Regions from separate parts of the Homo sapiens genome. Here region 2 is linked to region 1. Evidence: promoter capture Hi-C in human tissues and cell types (Jung and others, 2019). All regions are on one chromosome and are shown on one strand. The core of a region is centred on a gene start or on the middle of the fragment in contact, and the rest is flanking DNA. Distances in the headings are between cores, read along the strand shown.

What was found. Contacts are between HindIII fragments. The study calls those that stand out against the background at their distance.
Region 2: a fragment that was not itself captured here is called in contact with the fragment with the promoter of RANBP17 in region 1 in 2 of the 25 tissues and cell types used here (H1 embryonic stem cells and mesendoderm cells).

Annotation. Positions count from the first base shown.
Region 1 is chr5:170,858,873-170,863,992 of GRCh38, reverse strand. RANBP17 (RAN binding protein 17) reads right to left here and starts at 1,975. Exons shown (of 28, transcript NM_022897.5): 1 at 1,942-1,975. The coding sequence starts at 1,959. The HindIII fragment of the contact is 7,494 bases long and covers 1-4,732 here.
Region 2 is chr5:170,932,456-170,937,956 of GRCh38, reverse strand. All of the region lies in intron 12 of RANBP17 (RAN binding protein 17), which reads right to left. Among named protein-coding and RNA genes, the nearest start is that of RANBP17, 73 kb to the right of the region's middle. The HindIII fragment of the contact is 5,474 bases long and covers 1-4,013 here.

The DNA of each region.
Region 1 (5,120 bases), core at 726-3,225:
ACAATATGATCCTATATGCTAAAAAGAATTCAAACGGAGAAATTTCAGTTTTTTTCTAGTCAACAAAACTGTCTGATCTTTTATTTGTCCAACTCCGCTTTTAAGCTGTCTACAGGAATGTACTGTGAAGTACTTATGTTGGAATGTACTGTGAAGTACATTCCTGCAAAACCAATATGGGTAGTTTTGACATCAGCAGCTAACTTTTCCAACACTGTGCCTAAATATGAAGAAGTCTTCCAGGGCTTGGTGATTTAACTGTACATCACCTTTCCATGTATGAAAAAATTCCAAAGTTCCACCATACCTTTTAATTTACTCTCAAGATTTACTCGGGCTCTGTGAACATCTGATTACCTATTTACAATCCATAAATCCTCCTTGTAAGATTCTTCCTGTGAAAATTTCCCAGAGGGCATATTTACTAAAGTGGTAATACATTATTTTGACCTGAGGACCCTTAGAAATGGCATGAAGTCAAAAGGTAATGTGTCGGGCTTACTACATAACATTCTAGAACTGTCGATTATCAGACAGTAACTGGTTTTAAAAAAAAGACCCTTTAGAAGAATCAATAAATCAGCCAAGTTATAAATCAGTGTGATCACAGGGGGTTCAAAAGAGTCTACAAGGGGAATGAGATTCTTAGATACACTGTCACCATATTATGAAATTCCCTTCCCTCCCTGGGGTCATCTCCTGCCACCCACTGCCTCCCCTGATCCCATCCCTTTGTCCCAACCAGACTCAACTTTCTGCAGTACACCATGTTCTTCCACAATTCTTTGCCTTGGCTCACACGTCCTTCTACCTCCATATCCTTCCCTTCCTCTTCACCTGGCAAACAACTACGACTCTTTCAAGGACCAGTAGACTGCAAGTTCCCTGAGAGTAGAAACCATAGTTTTGTTCAGAGCTGTTGTATCTTCAGCGCCTAGCATAGTAGGCGCTCAATAATTAATAAATGGAAGAATGGAGGCTCAAAGAATCTTAAAGCATCTCTCAGCTAAGAGCATAGCAGCTCTGCTTCACTCCTTCTCAACATACACATTTGGCTGGCTACCCCCTTTTCTGTGCTATGATACTGTGACTATTTCTACCATACATTTTTCACTTGTACTGTAATTCTCTGTTAACTGTATGAGGGCGAGGATAGTAAGATGTCATCCTTTATCCCCAGAACTTTCCACAATGCTTGAGACACAGTGGGGAGATAATAAATGTTTGCTGAATAACTGAACGGGGATGTCAGAGCAGCCCGAGGATATACAAGCACGCGTCCCATCTTCGTAGCCTCTGCGATCCTCGCGTCCGCGCCCGCGCCCGCGCCCGGCCCGGGTTTCCTCCTCCGAAGAGGCGGCCGCGTAGCCCTCCCTCGCAACTCCCCCCAGACGCAGCCCCTGTCTCCTCTGGCCAATTAAAGTCCAACCGCTGCCGCCGCTCCTTCGGTGGATCCCAAGCCCCCGCTCCGGCTGGGGCTCAACTGTGTGGAGGGAGGCTGACGATAGAGCCGCGCCGGCGACGCGGCGGGAAGGCGGGAAGGCTGCTCCACCGCTCGGCAGCCGCGCGAGGCGCGCCAAAGCCGGCCCAGCTGGGACTCCCACCTGCCCTGGCAACACTAAAGCCGCGGTCAGCGAGCGTGCTGCCGGCGTCCGCACCTTCCCCGGGACGAGCCCTGGGCCTGTCCCCCGCCCCCTCCACCCGCCGCCTCCAACCCAGGCTCGGCCGCCCCTTTCTCGGGCTCCGGCCCGGGCCTGGGGTGTGCAGCCCAGACCAGTGTCCCGGTCCCCGGCTAGGGGCAGAGGCAGGGGCTGGGACTCCGGGGACACCGGCCCACGGCCCTGCGGCCTCCGCCGCTGTCCTCGGCCCTCGGTCTCCAGACGCGTCCCGCCGGGTTCCCAGCGTGGCGGAGCGCGGGCCCGCGGCGCAGAGCACACTGACCTGGAAGTGCAGCGCCATCTTCCCAGGAGGCGGCGCCGGCCAGCCGGCCGGTCGGCACCCAGCGCCCGAGGGGAGGGAGCAGAGGCGGGCGCCGCGGAAGCCCCAGACGCCCGCGGGGTCCCTGCGCCGCTCGTCCTTCGCAGCCTCAGCCAGGCTTCGCGTCCGCATTCGAAGCGCTGGAGGGGCGGGGCTGGGAGGGACGGGGCGGGGCTGGGAGGGACGGGGCGGGGCGACGGAGGCGGTGCACGGGGCGGGGCCGATAGGGGCGTGTCCTCCGGGAATCTCAACCGTCCCTTGCGCTCAAGTTTCAACCGGCGTGTGTTGGTGGGTCATGACCTCCAACCTCTGCCCTTTGACACAACTACCACGACCCACCCGTCAGCCGTGGACCCTGACTCATAAGTCTTCCAAAGGCTCTCTTGACCCCTGACCCTCAAAATACAACTATCGCCCATGGCTCCCGACACCTGCATCTCCACAGATTTTCTTGTCTCCTAACAGCCAGGAACCACAGACACACACAGCCATAACCTTTGACTCCCACATGCCAGCTGTTGCCCTTGACCCCTGACTCCCAGGGCCCAAATTCCATTGTTGCTTAACAATGTTTTTAACTTGATTTTGGTTAAAATTAAACCGCCCATGTCTACATGCTGTTAAGTTGTAAAATTCAAGCTTTACCTCATTCTTTGTCTGCATTTTGTTTAATATGAACTTATATTTTACAACAAATGATTCCACTGCAATGAGAATTTATTGGAGCAGAATTGGGTCAAAGTTGCTGCTTTCTGATGTTCTCCGTTTTTTCTTCAAGTTCAGCATTTCCATTTGGGAGCACTGTGCTGTAGTATTTAAGAGGGAAACTCCCTTAAGCACTTCTTGTATTCAGGTCTGCTAACAACAAAGTCTCTCAGCTTTTGTTAACATAAAATCATCTTAATTCACCTTCATTTTTTAAAGGATAGTTTTGCTGGGTATAGAATTTCACATTGGCTTTTTTTTTAATCTTTCAGCATTTTAAAAATGTCTTCTCATTGTCTTCTGCTTGTCATTGTTTCTATTGAGAAATCAGCCATCAGTCTAATTGTTGCTCCTGTCTTTTGGCCCCCTCCTCAGGTACTTGAACATTTTTCTCTTTTTTTATTTTTTCTTTTTGTCTTCAGCACTTTGTGCTTGATGTCGCTAAGTGTGTGTGTGTGTGTGTGTTGTATTTATCCTGCTTGGGATTCATAAAGCTCTTTAAGTGTGAATGTAATCTTTTTTATCAAGTTTTGAAAAATCTTGGTCACTAGTTCTTTAAATATTGCATCTGTCCCCTTCTCTCTCTCTACCTCTCCATTCTGGAACTCCAGTTACATGTATGTTATAAGTTTTTGCTATATTCCTTATTTCTATTCTGTATTTTTTATTTGCCTGCTGTCCATTCCATAGAAACTCTGTTCTGCTGTGTCTGAGCTGCTATACATCCCCTCTATTGAATTCTTAGTTTTAGTTATAATATTTTCAGTTCTAGAATTTTCATTTAGAAAGTTGAAATTTTCATGGTTCCTCCTCCTCTCCCATTTTAAAAATAGATTCCAAGGCTTTGATGAAATTCTTTGTCTTTATTTTCTTAAACATTTTAACTGTATTATTTAAAGCCCTTATCTGTTAACTCCAATTTCTGAATCATCTGAGTCTTCCTGGGTTTTTGGTGCTTGGCCCTTGGCCCTTTTTTTTCTTTCTTTTTTTTTTTTTTTTTTTTTTTTTTTTTTTTACATATCTCATGATTTCTTGTTGAATTCAAACCATGTAGAAGAAAATTTGTAGAGGCTCTGGATGATAACAGGTTTCTCCAAGGAGGGCTAAGTTTTCTTGTGGTAGGCAGACAAGAGTACTAGTGGATCATTGAGTCTTTTTAATTCTGGTTAACTTCAGTTATGACCTTACTCCTAGGCCATGGTCCTTACTAGGTCTTACAACTAAAAGCCTAGAATGTGGCTGGGCATGATGGCTCATGACTATAATCCCAGCACGTTGGAAAGCCAGAGAGGGTGGATCGCTTGAATCCAGGAGTTTGAGACCAGCCTGGGCAACATGGTGAAAGCCCATCTCTACAAGAAATACAAAAAATTAGCTTGGTGTAGTAGCATGTGCCTGTAGTTCCAGCTACTCGGGAGGCTGAGGTGGGAAGACCCCTTGGGCCCAGAAGCTATAGGCTGCAGTGGGCCGTGATTGCACCACTGCACTCCAGGCCAGGCAACAGAGCAAGAATCTGTCTCAAAAAAACAAAAGCCTGGAATGTTTACCAAGATCCTTCCACCTTGTGGGGCTTGAACTCTAGTCTCTGTCTCTTCAGCCCTGTGTAGCTGCTGAAATCTTTGTTGAGCTCTTTAGGTGCTGTTGTTCTGCTGGATTTCTTAGAGTCTCTTCATGTGCATGTATATCTTAGGAACGGACACAAATTTGGGGACTCACATCTCTATAGTTTCTTTCTTTCTAGAATTTTGTCCTTCAAATCTCAGTTGCTCTTGTTCCGAAACTCCAGCCTTTGCTCCTAGCCTATTGAGACTGCTGCTTTCTATTTAGCTGTTATTCCTTGCTGCCACTTGGAAAATGCCTTGGGGTGATGACAGGGAGGAGCAGATGGGGAATCTAAGGTAAATTGGAATCTTACCCCTTGTGCTTTCCTTCTTTCAAGATTTGTGGCCACTTAAGTTCTGCCTTTTCTATTGCCTTTAGTTGTTAAAGATACTTATCTGTCGTGTGTGTGTGGGTGTGTGCATGCATGATTGCTGATAATTCATATTTACTCATAGTTTTATATATATTTAATATATGTGATAGAATTGTCATACACACACGTGTCCTATCTTTATAATAGTTTTCAGTGGGAGGTCTAATCCAACATAAGATACTTTATTATTATAAGCCTGTTTGCATCTTCCATGCTTCACCCTTGGTTTTCATAGCTCATCCACTGTCCATAAATCTGCATTTCCACAACTGAACTCCTTTAAACCTTAAAATCGTTAATACCCTCCCCCTGTGTCCCATTTTCACTCCTGTGTCCCAAAGTTCCTGATTCCCATAGTCGTAACTTCCATTTCCATGTCTCAATACTTTTGATATCCAATCTCAACTGTGATTCCCACAACCCAACATATCTGATGCCCACATCCCAAACACGCATCCTGATT
Region 2 (5,501 bases), core at 27-2,526, 75 kb before region 1:
TATTTTGCAGCTAAAAGGCCTTTCAGAGGATGTAGTTGACCACACTTAAGTTATTACTAACTCTTTACTTTTGAAGAACCAAACACTAATTGTCTGTGCTATATATTTTTTAAATGTAATTTTATAGATAGCTGGCTAAACACAATCCAAATTATAAAATAACATAATCCAAATTAATGTCTGCACACAGAACACAAATCTGAAATGACAAAAGATTGTCATGTGTCATCAGTCAAAACAAAAACAGCACTACAACACAAGCTTACAGGGTCACCTGTAAAGATACTCAACTGAAAGGACAAGTTAGGACTGAAATCCAGCCTATATTCTGCCCACCAATCTATTTACTCTAGCATGTTGTTGCAATGGCCTGGATGAAATGGAACATTTTTCTAATTTGCACAAAGGTACCAAATGTACTACTGAGCTGGTAGAAGAGTAAAATGATCCTCAATGTCCAAAAATAATATGAAGGCTGAAATTTAGAGTTACAGGCACAGAAACAACTAGAGTTTGAGCTTCTCCTCTAATGGCCAAAGGAAAAAGCCTAGGACAGGCCCAATGTGAGAAGTCCAAAAAAGCTGATGCAAAGAGTTACACCCCAAATGAAAATACAAACTGGGTAAAAAAAATCTGCCCTAAACAGAAAGACAAGACAGAAACCTGTCTGACTTGACCTCAGTGCTAACTGAAGAGGAGGAAAAAACCTTTAAGTCAGACCTCACATGGTTTGTGGACTACATACAGACTACCAGTGTGATATGAAAATGAGATATGAAACTCCCATTCTAAGGAAATAATTTAAATGGAATTAAGTTGGTGTCCTCCACCTAGCAAATGAACTAAACATTCCAGTAAAAAGAGATGGTCAGAATGGATTTTTTAAAAGGGAACAACTATTTACCACCTACAAAAGACACACTTTAAATATAAAGACACAGGCAGGCAGGAAGTAAATGGATGGAGAAAGATATACTACATAAATAGTAAGCATAAGAAGACAGTGGAGTGGTTACAGTAATATCAGATAAGATAGATTTCAAGAGTAAAGGTCAATAAGGAAGACATAACAATCACAAATGTTTACATGATACAAAAATTTAAGGAATTAGATTATAAACAATTCCACAATCATAACTGGAGATTTAACACCCCTCTCTCTGCAAACAATATAATTACACAGACAAAAGAAATCAATAAAGACAAAGAATATATGAACATTATCTTAATTTATATTTATATTACACCCAAAAATAGCAAAATACATATTCTTTTCAAGTGTATATGCTACGTTTGCCAGGACAGACAATATTCTGGGTCATATGACAAGTCTTAATAAATTTAGAAAGACTGAAATCACACAAAATGATACTTGACCAAGGTAGGTAAAATTTAAAAATCAGTAACAATAACTAGGAAAACTCTAAATATTTGTAACTTAAAAGCACACTTCTAAATAATCCATAAATCACAAAGAACAAAGAAATAATAATTAAATTAGAAATTATCTTTAAATGAAAATAAAAATAAAACAGCGGCTTGGTGGCGCCAAGATGGCCGAATAGGAACAGCTCCAGTCTGCAGCTCCCAGAGAGACTGACGCAGAAGACAGGTGATTTCTGCATTTCCAACTGAGGTACCGGATTCATCTCACTAGGGCTTGCCAAACAAGTCGGTGCAGCCCACCTAGCACGGCGGGGCATTGCCTCACCCTGGAAGCGCAAGAGGTCCAGGAATTCCCTTTCCTAGCAAAGGGAAGCTGTGACAGACGGCACCTGGAAAATCGGGACACTCTCACCCTAATACTGCGCTTTTCCAATGGCCTTAGCAGACGGCACACCAGGAGATTATGACCTGCACCTAGCTCGGAGGGTCCCATGCCCACGGAGCCTCGCTCACTGCTAGCACAAGAGCCTGAGATGGAACTGCAAGGCGGCAGCGAGGCTGGGGAAGGGGCTTGAGCCATTGCTGCGGCTTGAGTAGGTAAGCAAAGCAGCCAGAAAGCTCGAACTGGGTGGAGCCCACGGCAGCTCAAGGAGGCCTGCCTGCCTCTGTAGACTCCACCTCTAGGGGCAGGGCATAGCTGAACAAAAGGCAGCAGAAACTTCTGCAGACTTAAACGTCCCTGTCTGACAGCTTTGAAGAGAGCAGTAGTTCTCCCAGCATGGAGTGTGAGATCTGAGAACGGACCGACTGCCTCCTCAAGTGGGTCCCTGAGTCCCGAGTAGCCTAACTGGGAGGCACCTCCCAGTAGGGGGGCGATTGACACCTCATAAGGCCCGGTGCCCCTCTGAGACTAAGCTTCCAGAGGAAGGATTAGGCAGCAACATCTGCTGTTCTGCAGCCTCAGCTGGTGATACCCAGGCAAACAGGGTCTGGAGTGGACCTCCAGCAAACTCCAACAGACCTGCAGCTGAGGGTCCTGACTGTTAGAAGGAAAACTAACAAACAGAAAGGACATCCACACCAAAACCCCATCCATACGTCACCATCATCAAAGACCAAAGGTAGATAAAACCACAAAGATGGGGAGAAACCAGAGCAGAAAAGCTGAGAATTCTAAAAATCAGAGGGTCTCTTCTCCTCCAAAGGAACGCAGCTCCTCGCCAGCAACGGAACAAAGCTGGACAGAGAATGACTTTGACGATTCGAGAGAAGAAGGCTTCAGACGATCAGTAATAACGAACTTCACCAAGCTAAAGGAGGATGTTCGAACCCATTGCAAAGAAGCTAAACCCTTGCAAAAAGAGTAGACGAATGGCTAACTAGAATAAACAGTGTAGAGAAGTCCTTAAATGACCTGATGGAGCTGAAAACCATGGCACGAGAACTACGTGATGCATGCACAAGCTTCAGTAGATTTGATCAAATGGAAGAAAGGATATCAGTGATTGAATATCAAATGAATGAAATGAAGTTAGAAGAGAAGTTTAGAGAAAAAAGAGTAAAAAGAAATGAACAAAAGTCTACAAGAAATATGGGACTACATGAAAAGACCAAATCTACGTCTGACTGGTATACCTGAAAGTGACAGGGAGAATGGAACCAAGTTGGAAACCACTCTTCAGGATATCATCCAGGAGAACTTCCCCAACCTAGCAAGGCAGGCCAACATTCAGATTCAGGAAATACAGAGAATGCCACAAAGATACTCCTTGAGAAGAGCAACTCCAAGACACATAATTGTCAGATTCACCAAAGTTGAAATGAAGGAAAAAATGTTAAGGGCAGCTAGAGAGAAAGGTCGGGTTACCCACAAAGGGAAGCCCATGAGACTAACAGCAGATCTCTCGGCAGAAACTCTACAAGCCAGAAGAGAGTGGGGGCCAATATTCAACATTCTTCAAGAAAAGAATTTTCAACCCAGAATTTCATATCCAGCCAAACTAGGCTTCATAAGTGATGGAGAAATAAAATCCTTTACAGACAAACAAAAGCTGAGAGATTTTGTCACCACCAGGCCTGCCTTACACTAAACGTGGAAAGGAACAACTGGTACCAGCCACTGCAAAAACATGCCAAATAAGACCAATACTAGGAAGAAACTGCAACAACGAATGAGCAAAATAACCAGCTAACATCATAAAAACAGGATCAAATTCAAGACCCATCAGTGTGCTGTATTCAGGAGACCCATCTCATGTGCAGAGACACACATAGGCTCAAAATAAAGGGATGGAGGAAGATCTACCAAGCAAATGGAAAACAAAAAAAGCAGGGGTTGCAATCCTAGTCTCTGATAAAACAGACTTTAAACCAACAAAGATCAAAAGAGACAAAGAAGGGCATTACGTAATGGTAAAGGGATCAATTCAGCAAGAAGAGCTAACTATCCTAAATATATATGCACCCAATACAGGAGCACCCAGATTCATAAAGCACGTCCTGAGAGACCTAAAAAGAGACTTAGACTCCCGTACAATAATAATGGGAGATTTTAAAACCCCACTGTCAACATTACACAGATCAACGAGACAGAAAGTTAACAAGGATATCCAGGAATTGAACTCAGCTCTGCACCAAGCAGACCTAATAGACATCTACAGAACGCTCCACCCCAAATCAACAGAATATACATTCTTCTCAGCACCACATCGCACTTATTCCAAAATTGACCACATAGTTGGAAGTAAAGCACTCCTCAGCAAATGTAAAAGAACAGAAATTATAACAAACTGTCTCTCAGACCACAGTGCAATCAAACTAGAACTCAGGATTAAGAAACTCACTCAAAACCGCTCAACTACATGGAAACTGAACAACCTGCTCCTGAATGACTACTGGGTACATAACGAAATCAAGGCAGAAATAAAGATGTTCTTTGAAACCAATGAGAACAAAGACACAACATATCAGAATCTCTGGGACACATTTAAAGCATTGTGTAGAGGGAAATTTATAGCACTAACTGCCCACAGGAGAAAGCTAGAAAGATCTAAAATTGACACCCTAACATCACAATTAAAAGAACTAGAGAAGGAAGAGCAAACACATTCAAAGGCTAGCAGAAGGCTAGAAATAACTAAGATCAGAGCAGAACTGAAGGAAATAGAGACACAAAAAACCCTTCAAAAAAATCAATGAATCCAGGAGCTGGTTTTTTTGAAAAGATCAACAAAATTGATAGACCGCTAGTAAGACTAATAAAGAAGAAAAGAGAGAGGAATCAAATAGACACAATAAAAAATGATAAAGGGGATATCACAACTGATCCCACAGAAATGCAGACTACCATCAGAGAATACTATAAACACCTCTACACAAATAAATTAGAAAATCTAGAAGAAATGGATAAATTCCTGGACACATACACCCTCCCAAGACTAAACCAGGAAGAAGCTGAATCCCTGAATAGACCAATAACAGGTTCTGAAATTGAGGCAATAATTAATAGCCTACCAACCAAAAAAAGTCCAGGACCAGATGGATTCACAGCCGAATTCTACCAGAGGTACAAAGAGGAGCTGGTTCCATTCCTTCTCAAACTATTCCAATCAACAGAAAAAGAGGGAATCCTCCCTAATTTATTTTATGAGGCCAACATCATCCTGATACCAAAGCCTGGTAGAGACACAACAAAAAAAAAGAGAATTTTAGACCAACATCCCTGATGAATATCGATGCAAAAATCCTCAATAAAATACTGGCAAACCAAATCCAGCAGCACATCAAAAAGCTTATCCACCACGATCAAGTTGGCTTCATCCCTGGGATGCAAGGCTGGTTCAACATATGCAAATCAATAAATGTAATCCAGCATATAAACAGAGCCAAAGACAAAAACCACATGATTATCTCAATAGATGCAGAAAAGGCCTTTGACAAAATTCAACAGCCCTTCATGCTAAAAACTCTCAATAAACTAGGTATTGATGGGACATATCTCAAAAAAAATAAGAGCTATTTATGACAAACCCACAGCCAGTATCATACTGAATGGACAAAAACTGGTAGCATTCCCTTTGAAAACTGGCACAAGACAGGGATGCCCTCTCTCACCA